Regions from separate parts of the Homo sapiens genome. Here regions 2 and 3 are each linked to region 1. Evidence: promoter capture Hi-C in human tissues and cell types (Jung and others, 2019). All regions are on one chromosome and are shown on one strand. The core of a region is centred on a gene start or on the middle of the fragment in contact, and the rest is flanking DNA. Distances in the headings are between cores, read along the strand shown.

Evidence for each region. Contacts are between HindIII fragments. The study calls those that stand out against the background at their distance.
Region 2: a contact is called between a fragment that was not itself captured here and the fragment with the promoter of NKX6-2 in region 1, in 2 of the 25 tissues and cell types used here (dorsolateral prefrontal cortex and mesendoderm cells).
Region 3: a fragment that was not itself captured here is called in contact with the fragment with the promoter of NKX6-2 in region 1 in 1 of the 25 tissues and cell types used here (aorta).

The regions. Positions count from the first base shown.
Region 1 is chr10:132,784,814-132,787,540 of GRCh38, forward strand. It overlaps NKX6-2 (NK6 homeobox 2), which reads right to left and starts at 1,334. Exons shown (of 3, transcript NM_177400.3): 1 at 730-1,334; 2 at 467-639; 3 at 1-357. The coding sequence starts at 1,135. The coding sequence ends at 103. The HindIII fragment of the contact is 14,696 bases long and covers 1-2,727 here.
Region 2 is chr10:132,832,257-132,834,983 of GRCh38, forward strand. CFAP46 (cilia and flagella associated protein 46) reads right to left here. Exons shown (of 58, transcript NM_001200049.3): 48 at 2,398-2,519; 49 at 1,785-1,867; 50 at 1,102-1,269. Among named protein-coding and RNA genes, the nearest start is that of NKX6-2, 47 kb to the left of the region's middle. The HindIII fragment of the contact is 6,011 bases long and covers 1-2,727 here.
Region 3 is chr10:132,744,335-132,747,061 of GRCh38, forward strand. All of the region lies in intron 9 of INPP5A (inositol polyphosphate-5-phosphatase A), which reads left to right. Among named protein-coding and RNA genes, the nearest start is that of NKX6-2, 40 kb to the right of the region's middle. RefSeq lists a silencer at 279-460 and an enhancer at 1,377-1,912. The HindIII fragment of the contact is 8,826 bases long and covers 1-2,727 here.

The sequences.
Region 1 (2,727 bases), core at 84-2,583:
GGGACCCGTTAAATAATTTATTGATGATACAAAGCGACTCGCGCCCACCCGGGGCCGCCCCCGGATTCTGCAAAAATAGATTCGCCCCCACCCCGCGGGTCCTCACAAGGCGTCCCCCGCGCCGCCGCCGCACGGGCTGACCAGCGCCAAGTTCGAGGGTTTGTGCTTCTTGAGCAGCCGCGTGATCTTCTCGTCGTCCGAGTTGGGGTCCAGGGGCCGGTTGTATTCGTCGTCGTCCTCCGCGTCCGAGCCGCCCACCTTCAGCTTCTCGGCGTCCGAGTCCTGCTTCTTCTTGGCCGACGCCATCTCCACCGCGTGCCGCTTGCGCCACTTGGTCCGGCGGTTCTGGAACCAGACCTGGGAGTGGACGGGGCGGTCAGGCGGCCGCGGGGCCCGGGGCTGGCGCTGGGGCCGTTCGCAGGACGCGGGCCCCCGGCTCTGCTCTCCCGAGCCCCGCCGCGCTCACCTTCACCTGGCTCTCGGTCATGCCCAGCGAGTAGGCGAGACGCGCGCGCTCCGGGCCCGCCAGGTACTTGGTCTGCTCGAAGGTTTTCTCCAGCGCGAAGATCTGCTGGCCCGAGAAGGTCGGGCGCGAGTGCTTCTTCTTCCCGTCCTTGTCCAGGACGCCGCCGGCCGGGGCTGCAAGGGAGGGGAAGGGAGGGAGGTCAGCGGCCGGCGGGGTCCCCCTCCGCGCCCACCCGCCCCGCACCCCCCGCGCGGGCCACTCACCCGGGCCAGCCAGACGCGGGTCCCTCCAGGGCGCGCCCTGCACCACGCCGGGCCAGAAGATGGGCGGGCGCCCCGGCAGCTCGGCCAGGGGCTTGGGGTAGCCGCGCGCCACAGCGGCCGCGGGCCCGAAGTAAACGCCGGCGGACGACGCGAGCCCGTTGAGCCGGGGCAGCCCCCCCAGGAGGCCCCCGCCCGCCGCGCCCACGGGCCGGCCCAGGATGTCGCTGATGCCGTGCGGGGTCCCGAGCGGGAGCTGCGCGCCCAGGCCCCCCAGCGCGGGCGCCTTGAAGCCGGCCGGACCCTGCAGCGCGTAGGGGAACAGCGACGTCTTCATCTCGGCCATGTTGTGCAGCGCGGCCAGCGGGGCACTGCTCAGCACGAACGCGCCCGGGCGGTTAGTGTCCATGGGCGCCGCCGCCGCCGGCCCGGGCTCCCATCCGGGCCCCGCCGCCGCCGCCCCTGCCCGCCGGCCCGGGAAGTTTGCGCGCGGCCCGGGCGGGCGTCGGCTGCAGCGCGGGGCGCGGGGCGCGGGGGGCGGGCGGGCGGCTCCGGCGCGGGGCGGGCGGGCGGGCGGCGGCGGCGGCGGCTCCGGGGCCGGTCGGAGCGGCGCCGCGCGGGACGGACGCGCTGATAACGGGGGCTCCCCGGGGCGCGGCGCGCGCGCTGATTGGCTGCGGACCCCGCGGTCCGGCCATTGGCCGGCGCCCCCCCCCCGCCCGCGCGCCCCCGCCGGCCGCGCACTCCATGAAGGGCCCATTAGCGCGGCAGGTGCCTCCCGGGCTGTAAATTCGCCCCGATTTATCTCCCCGGGGACGAAATAAATCCAGCTTGGATGGGAGTGTAGTTAGGCAAAGGTTTTCATGCGAAATCAGGAAAAAATACGAGAACGTATTTTATTAACGGAAAGAATGCAGATTTGAGGACCCGCCCGCGCGCTCGGAGCGCCCCACTCGGGGAAGAGTCCCGGCCCGCGTCCCAGTCGCGACTGCTCCGCCGCCCGTGGCTGGGGTGGGTGTGAGCGGCAGCGGACGCCGGCGGGGAACGCGCTCCGGGCAGGTCGGGGCCACAGGAGGGCGGAGGACGCGGGCCTCGAGTCCACGGAATCCACGGGCCTCACGGCCGGGCGAGGCTCGCACGGAGCTGCCTCTGGTTTCGCCGACACGCGGCCGGCGCGGTGGAGGAGTGAGGCAGGCGGGAGCGGGGCGGGGAGGCGGGTCCCGGGACCACACGCGCGGCTCGGCACTTCCCCGTCATCGGCCTCCAGGTCTCCCGCTGGGGGTCCCCCAGGATGTGACCTGGGCCCACGACTTCGCCCACGGGCCGCCTCTCGCGAATCCCCGGCCGGGAGAACAGAGACCAGGACGGCCTCAGCGCGGAAGCCCTGTCCAGGGCCCGAACGTGGGTGCGGGCTGGGGGCGCAGCGGCAGAAACGCGGCCTTAGACGCGCGCGGGGGGCCGGTGTCCCCCCCGCCCCCACGGCACCGGGAGCCGCTCGCTCATCCATCCCGCAGACCGGGCGGTGAGATGACTCCGAGCCCCGCGCACGGCGGCCGCGAGCAAACGCTCCGACGTCTGTGGTGACGTCTCGTATTGATTTAGGGACACGGGGCGGCTGTGGCTGTGGCCCACGGCTCGTGGGGAGCCCGAGTCTGTGCGCAGGGAACGCCGCTGCGTGGCCTCTCTCGGGCCTGTGCCGCGGAGGAAGGCGGCGCCCGGGGTTCGGGGCCGGGGTCTCACGTCCGCCCCCTCGCCCCCCTCCAGCGTCCGTTTTCGTTTTGTGCAGGTCGAGGCGGGGACTTGGCGCCGTCGGCCGCTCCTGGATGGCGGCTTGGAAAAGCCACCTGCGGCCAAACTCCGGGGCAGTGGTGCGGCCGCCGGGTGTGTGCGCGCTCGGGGCTGCCCCGGCGGCTTCCGGCTCCACTGAGGTGCAGCCCCGCGTTCACGGGGGGTTCGCTTCCCCCGTCGACTCCGCACTCGATTCGACTGGGATTGGGATTC
Region 2 (2,727 bases), core at 93-2,592, 47 kb after region 1:
CTGCAGATCTCGGAGTGGCCGTTCCTTGCAGCTCTCTCCTTCCAGGTGTCCCGCCCTGCACGTTGTAGTTGTCAGTTTCCCAGACTCCAAACTGTCTGTCCTCAACTTGCGGAGACCCCTGGGCTCTTCCTGCCCCCCCCCCCCAATGCTGTGGCCTGGAAATTCCCCAGAGAGTAAGACCTGGGTGGGCCATGGCGCTCGCCAGCCAAACCCCCTTCGAGGCCCCCCGTCCTGCGCGGACTGCTCGTCAATGTTTGAAAACCCTCATTTCATGTGCTTTTCTCTGGTTTTTATTTGTCTCAGCTGGAAGAACGAATCTGGTCCCTGTTACTTCATCTGAGATGGAAGCAAAAGTCCAATCGATTTATTTTTAATTTTATTTGATACCGAAGTGCAGAAAACTGCACGTACCGCAAGGGTAGCGCTCGGGGAAGCTTCACAACCGGGGCACGTCTGCACAGCCAGCACTCAGTCACAGAATGTCATCACCCCCGAATCCCAGCCGAGGTCAGGGCCTTCCGCGCGCTCCCTCGTGCTTTTCACTGTCTGAGTGATTAACGGAGAGGCTGGCTGTTTACTACACATCTGGTCCCCTCCTTTGAAACAGGTATTTGTGGGGGCAAGAACAGCGTTAAGTTTGTCTTCCCTGTGTGTTTAGCACCAGGATACTGGCACATAGCAGGTATTTTATAAATAGTTTTGAGTGTTTATATATATACATATATATTTTATTTTTGACAGGGTCTCACTCTGTTGCCCAGGCTGGAGTGCAGTGGCGCCATCTCAGCTCCCCAAAGCCTCAGTCTCCCAGGCTCAAACCATCCTCCCACCTCCCAGCCTCCTGAGTAGCCAGGACCACAGGTGCACACCACCATGCCCAGCTAATTTTAAACTTTCTTGTAGAGATGCACTCTCACCATGTTGCCCAGGCTGGTGAGTATTTATATCCTACAAATATCTTTGAATGAATAAATGCCTAGAAAAATGTTGCAACATTTGATGATTATTTCTTGATAGGAGCTAACATTGTTTCATCTGAAAAATAATTTAAATATTTCCATTTTAAAATTACACATTAAGGTGGCTGAGGGCAGTTCCTACCTGTCTCTTCTTTATGGAGGCGATTCCACAGCATTTGAAGAGAAAATTCTCGTGACACAGAGGAAATTGTCCCTTCATCGAACACAGAGAGACCTTCCAGTGGCAGCTCCAGGAGATGTCTGTCTGCGACCAGGACTATCTTATCGGCAACCTCAGGCTGGACTGTGCCTGGGAAACAGCAGTGCAGGGAGATCAGCTCCTGAAGACGGGACCCCTCCCACGGGGTCGCAGGGCTCCGTCTTCTGACTTGGCTGCTGGGCGCTGGGAAAGGCTGGCAGCCCGCCTTGACTCCATGCCACCTCCTCCTCCAGATGCCCCAGAACGGGGCGAGGAACAGCCTCCCATCACGCCTGTCCCTCCACACGATTCTTTTTGTTAGCAAGCACGTGTGGTGTGGCGGGGCTGACAATCCACCCACGCGAAGGTGGCTGTGCTGGGTTCCGTGGTGCTCTCAGGAGGCTTGGCACAGAGCCTCCTACCCAGAGGGCTGGTCCAGGGCTGTGCAGAGAACCTTCCGGGGACCTCAGGCGCAGGGAGGCCTCAGGGGAAGGAGCAGCAGGGCTTGTGGGACTCCTGGGTTCCTGACCCCCCCTGGCGTTCCCGGATGGGTGGGTGGATCCCAACCCCACCTCTTCTGGCGGGATGAGCTCCCCAGGCTGAGTGGCCACGCCCGCCCCACTCACTGTGTTGTCCTGTGGACGTTTTCCTCTCCTTGTCTTTGCCCTTCGACTTCCCTGAATCGGCAACAACCGCAGGTGTCTGCACTCTGAAAGTCAGGTTATATATTCGGGTTTAAGAAACAGAGATAACAAACGCTTGGAATATAGGCGACACCTGCTCAGCCTGTTTCACTCTAAGGCAGCAGCACCACGAATCCCCACGCTCACTTCTGGGGATGGTCCCACTGAGGTGGGGCCGGGATGAGCCACAGGATTTTGGGATCATCTCTGATCCACCAGCCAAGCTAAACGGTGCCAGGTGTCCGTCCCCTCTGCCTTCCTTCCCACCCCAAATCAAAGCAGCCCGGGCGGTCCCTTGGAGGTGCTTGCCCTCCCACCCCACACTTGGGCCAGGGGCTGGAGGGACCGTGGGCAGTGGGCAGTGGGCAGTACTCCTCCAGGCAGGAATGGAGGCAGAACCAGAAGAATTGCTTCCTGGGAGCAGGCAGGCGGCGCCGAGTCCTGAACAAAGGCGGCCGAGAAGGCACAGCAAGCACACGTGGTTGGCCACAGCACTGGACACACGTGTCCATGCGTGAGCGTGGTGGGGTGCCAGCCTCAACGTCATCCCCAGTACCTGGCCTTGGAGAGGCTGAGCAGGGGGAATAGCGGCTGCAGAAGCTCCTCCAGGGGCCCCAGGACGCTACTGAGCCTCTGCACAGGGCGCTCCTTCTCTTCCACCTGCAGGCCTTCTGGTTCCTACCGCAATCCAAAAAAGAGGCCCCCGTAGCAAACAGGGCGCATGGCCCAGACCCCGCGAGGGCCAGGCCCCTGCAGAAAGGCCGAGCTCCTGCCCCTTCTGCAAACAGCATGGTGGACAAGGGCACCTGGCTCGGCAACGAGGGCCCCATAGCACCTGGCCCATCCTCTGGAGGGTCACCCTGAGACCCCAGCCCCCACCCATCTC
Region 3 (2,727 bases), core at 128-2,627, 40 kb before region 1:
CCAGGAGGCCCTGCTCCCGCAGCAGAGCGGCCGCTGTCACCGAGGCAATGGCCAGATCAGGAATTCCAGGACCCCCGGGAGGGTGGGACACTGCGGCTCCACCGGTCCCTGTGTCTATGGAATCGGTGTCAGCGGACATCCCGTTCATGGTGGGATATGCCCGTAGGTGTCGGGCAGATGGGGGAGTTTCAATACCGGCTCCTTTAGGGGGTCTCAGTTTGGAGGAAAAAAGCCTTATTTCCTTGATGATGGTTTCATTCCTTAAGAACGCACTAGAATCTGCCCCTTAGTAGCTGCCTGTGGTGTTTCTAGATTCGGGGGCAACGTTGGCTTTGTGGTTCGTTTTTATTTTATTTAACTGTGAACGCCCTTTTACTCCCTGCATTGAGGTGAGACAGAGGACACGGCTCTCAAGGAGAGGAAGAAGTTGTTGGGATTCCCAGGCTTCATGAGGCCGGGCTGTCCCTGAGCCTGAGGCGACCTGCAGGGCTGACTGATTTCTATCCACTGAGGAAGGTTAGGATTCAACCTCAGCCTCACTTTGTGCAGCCGCCATGTTAGACATGCCGCCACAGACCACGGCACCGTTGTCCCTCCCGAAAGTGCTGTCCTGGGCCCGGCGGTGCAGCCCCTGGCAGCTTGCGAGGCCCGGGCTGCCCGCCTCTCCCGTGGCACAGGCTTGGGGACAGGGTGTGCCCGAGCCAGTGGCTGGCTCAGGAGGCCACAGAGGTGCATTTGCCTCTGCTCCAGGCGAGCTTGGGCGGTTCTGGGAGGGCCTGGGGACACAGGGTGACGTGGTGGGAGGGCGCTATGGCCTGTCAGCCTTTGATCTTGGGGCAGGTGGTTCTGCCTGCCTGCCACAGAGGACGGGGTCCTCCATCCCCTCGCGAGCTCCTGGAGGCCACGATGCTCCTGGGGACACCTCCCCTTTGGGAAGGTGAGGGCTGGGGCTGTCCCTGTTGCCAGGCTCTGGCCCTAGGAAGGAGGTTTGTGGCCCCAGTGACTAACGGATTCCCTTGTCTGCCTGGGAGTGTGTTGACCACCAGGGAGTAACCAGGGAACTGGACTCTCCGTGTGGCAGGAGGGGCATCTCCCAGCCTTCGAGCCTGATTGCTTTTCCAGTGCCTGAGCTGCACCCCTGGGATCCCAGCTTTCCCTTCCCGAGTCCGGGCAGCATCTGTGCTGGGCCCTGCTGGGACCTTCCTCCTCATGTGAGGCATGTCACGGCTGGCACTGGCCCCAGCCCGGGCCTCGGGTGTGGTGGGCCCACAGTGTGTCAGACCCTGGGTGTGGTGGGCCTCGGGCGTGGTGGCCTCGGGTGTGGTGGCCCTGGGCATGGTGGGCTTCAGGCATGGTGGCCTCGGGTGTGGTGGGCCCAGGCGTGGTGGGCTTCGGGCGTGGTGGGCCTCAGCTGTGGTGGCCTTGGGTATGGTGGGCCCGGGCATGGTGGGCTTCTGGCGTGGTGGCCTCGGGTGTGGTGGCCCTGGGTATGGTGGGCCTGGGCATGGTGGGCCCGGCCATGGTGGCCTCGGGTGTGGTGGGCCCGGGTGTGGTGGCCCCCGAGGAGGAGTGTGTCCTGGAGAACAGGCGGGTGCGTGAGAGCTCCCAGCTCAGCCACAAGAGCAACACATGCTGCCCACCCAGCCTCGCCTACCCTGCCTACCCTGAGACGCCTTGGCAGGACCTAGAAGCCAAGCCTGGGGTAGGGCCTCGGCGTTGCCTGCACGTGTGCCCAGATGGCTTCTTCGGAGCCCTGAGTGGGCCCCCGAGGCTGTGTGTCCACTTGGCCCAGGCAGGGCGCTCTGGACACCTGGTGATTCCAGGTAGAGAGTGGAGCCCAGGCGCCTGCTGGCTGTGCGTGCGGTGCCTGGAGGCTACAGCCAGCGAGGATTCATTTCAGAGAGTACAGAACAACTTTTTGTTTTTATAAACCAGCTCTTGAAGGTTGCATTTAAAAACTTGGGCTGACAGGGTCTGAGAGGATGTGTTTGCCTTTAGTAGAGTTTTGGATTTTGTGGCAGAGTGTCCGGGACAGTTGAGGGGGTGATGGGACAGATTCAGCTCCCAACGTGAGACCAACTGCACAGGTGCACATTGGGGCGACTCTGCCTGCCATGCAGCTCCGTGCACATCCGAATGACTGCGTTATTTCCTTGCACAGAAAACAGCCTTTCTCCTGGGCTGACACCTGTGCCCTGGGCCTGTGGACGCCCTGTCCAGGCAGCATGCCTCCTTGGTTATCCAAACAGTAAGAAGAAATGCAGGAACTTCGTGATCCACACGCGTGTGGATGACCCTGGCACACAGCGTTCCCGTTAAATTCTAAGTGTGGATAAGACGGCACACCGGACCACTCTTTCCAGAGCCTCTCCTTGCGGCTGCTAATAATGAAATACATCTTAGATGGCTTTTTAAACATAGCATTTAGGGTATTTGTTTCTCCTTTCAAAAGAGAAGAATCCCTTCCCAAAGTAGGCGAGCCGGAAAGGCCCAGCCTGGCCACTTTCCGCATGAGTGGCCACGACTTTGCTGGATTGAAAGGCAAAGGGAACAGGCCAGCTTTGGCCCCTTCAGCCTGGCCTGATCACTCCTTTACAGCCTGTGAATGAGGCAGCTCTGGGGAGGGGTTTGGGGTGGCCGGCCCCTTCCTGGGCTCTGGGGTCCATCAGATGTTTGTCCTTTGGGAGCCTGCCTGAAGTGCTGAGATAAAGCAGTTTTTAAACAGTT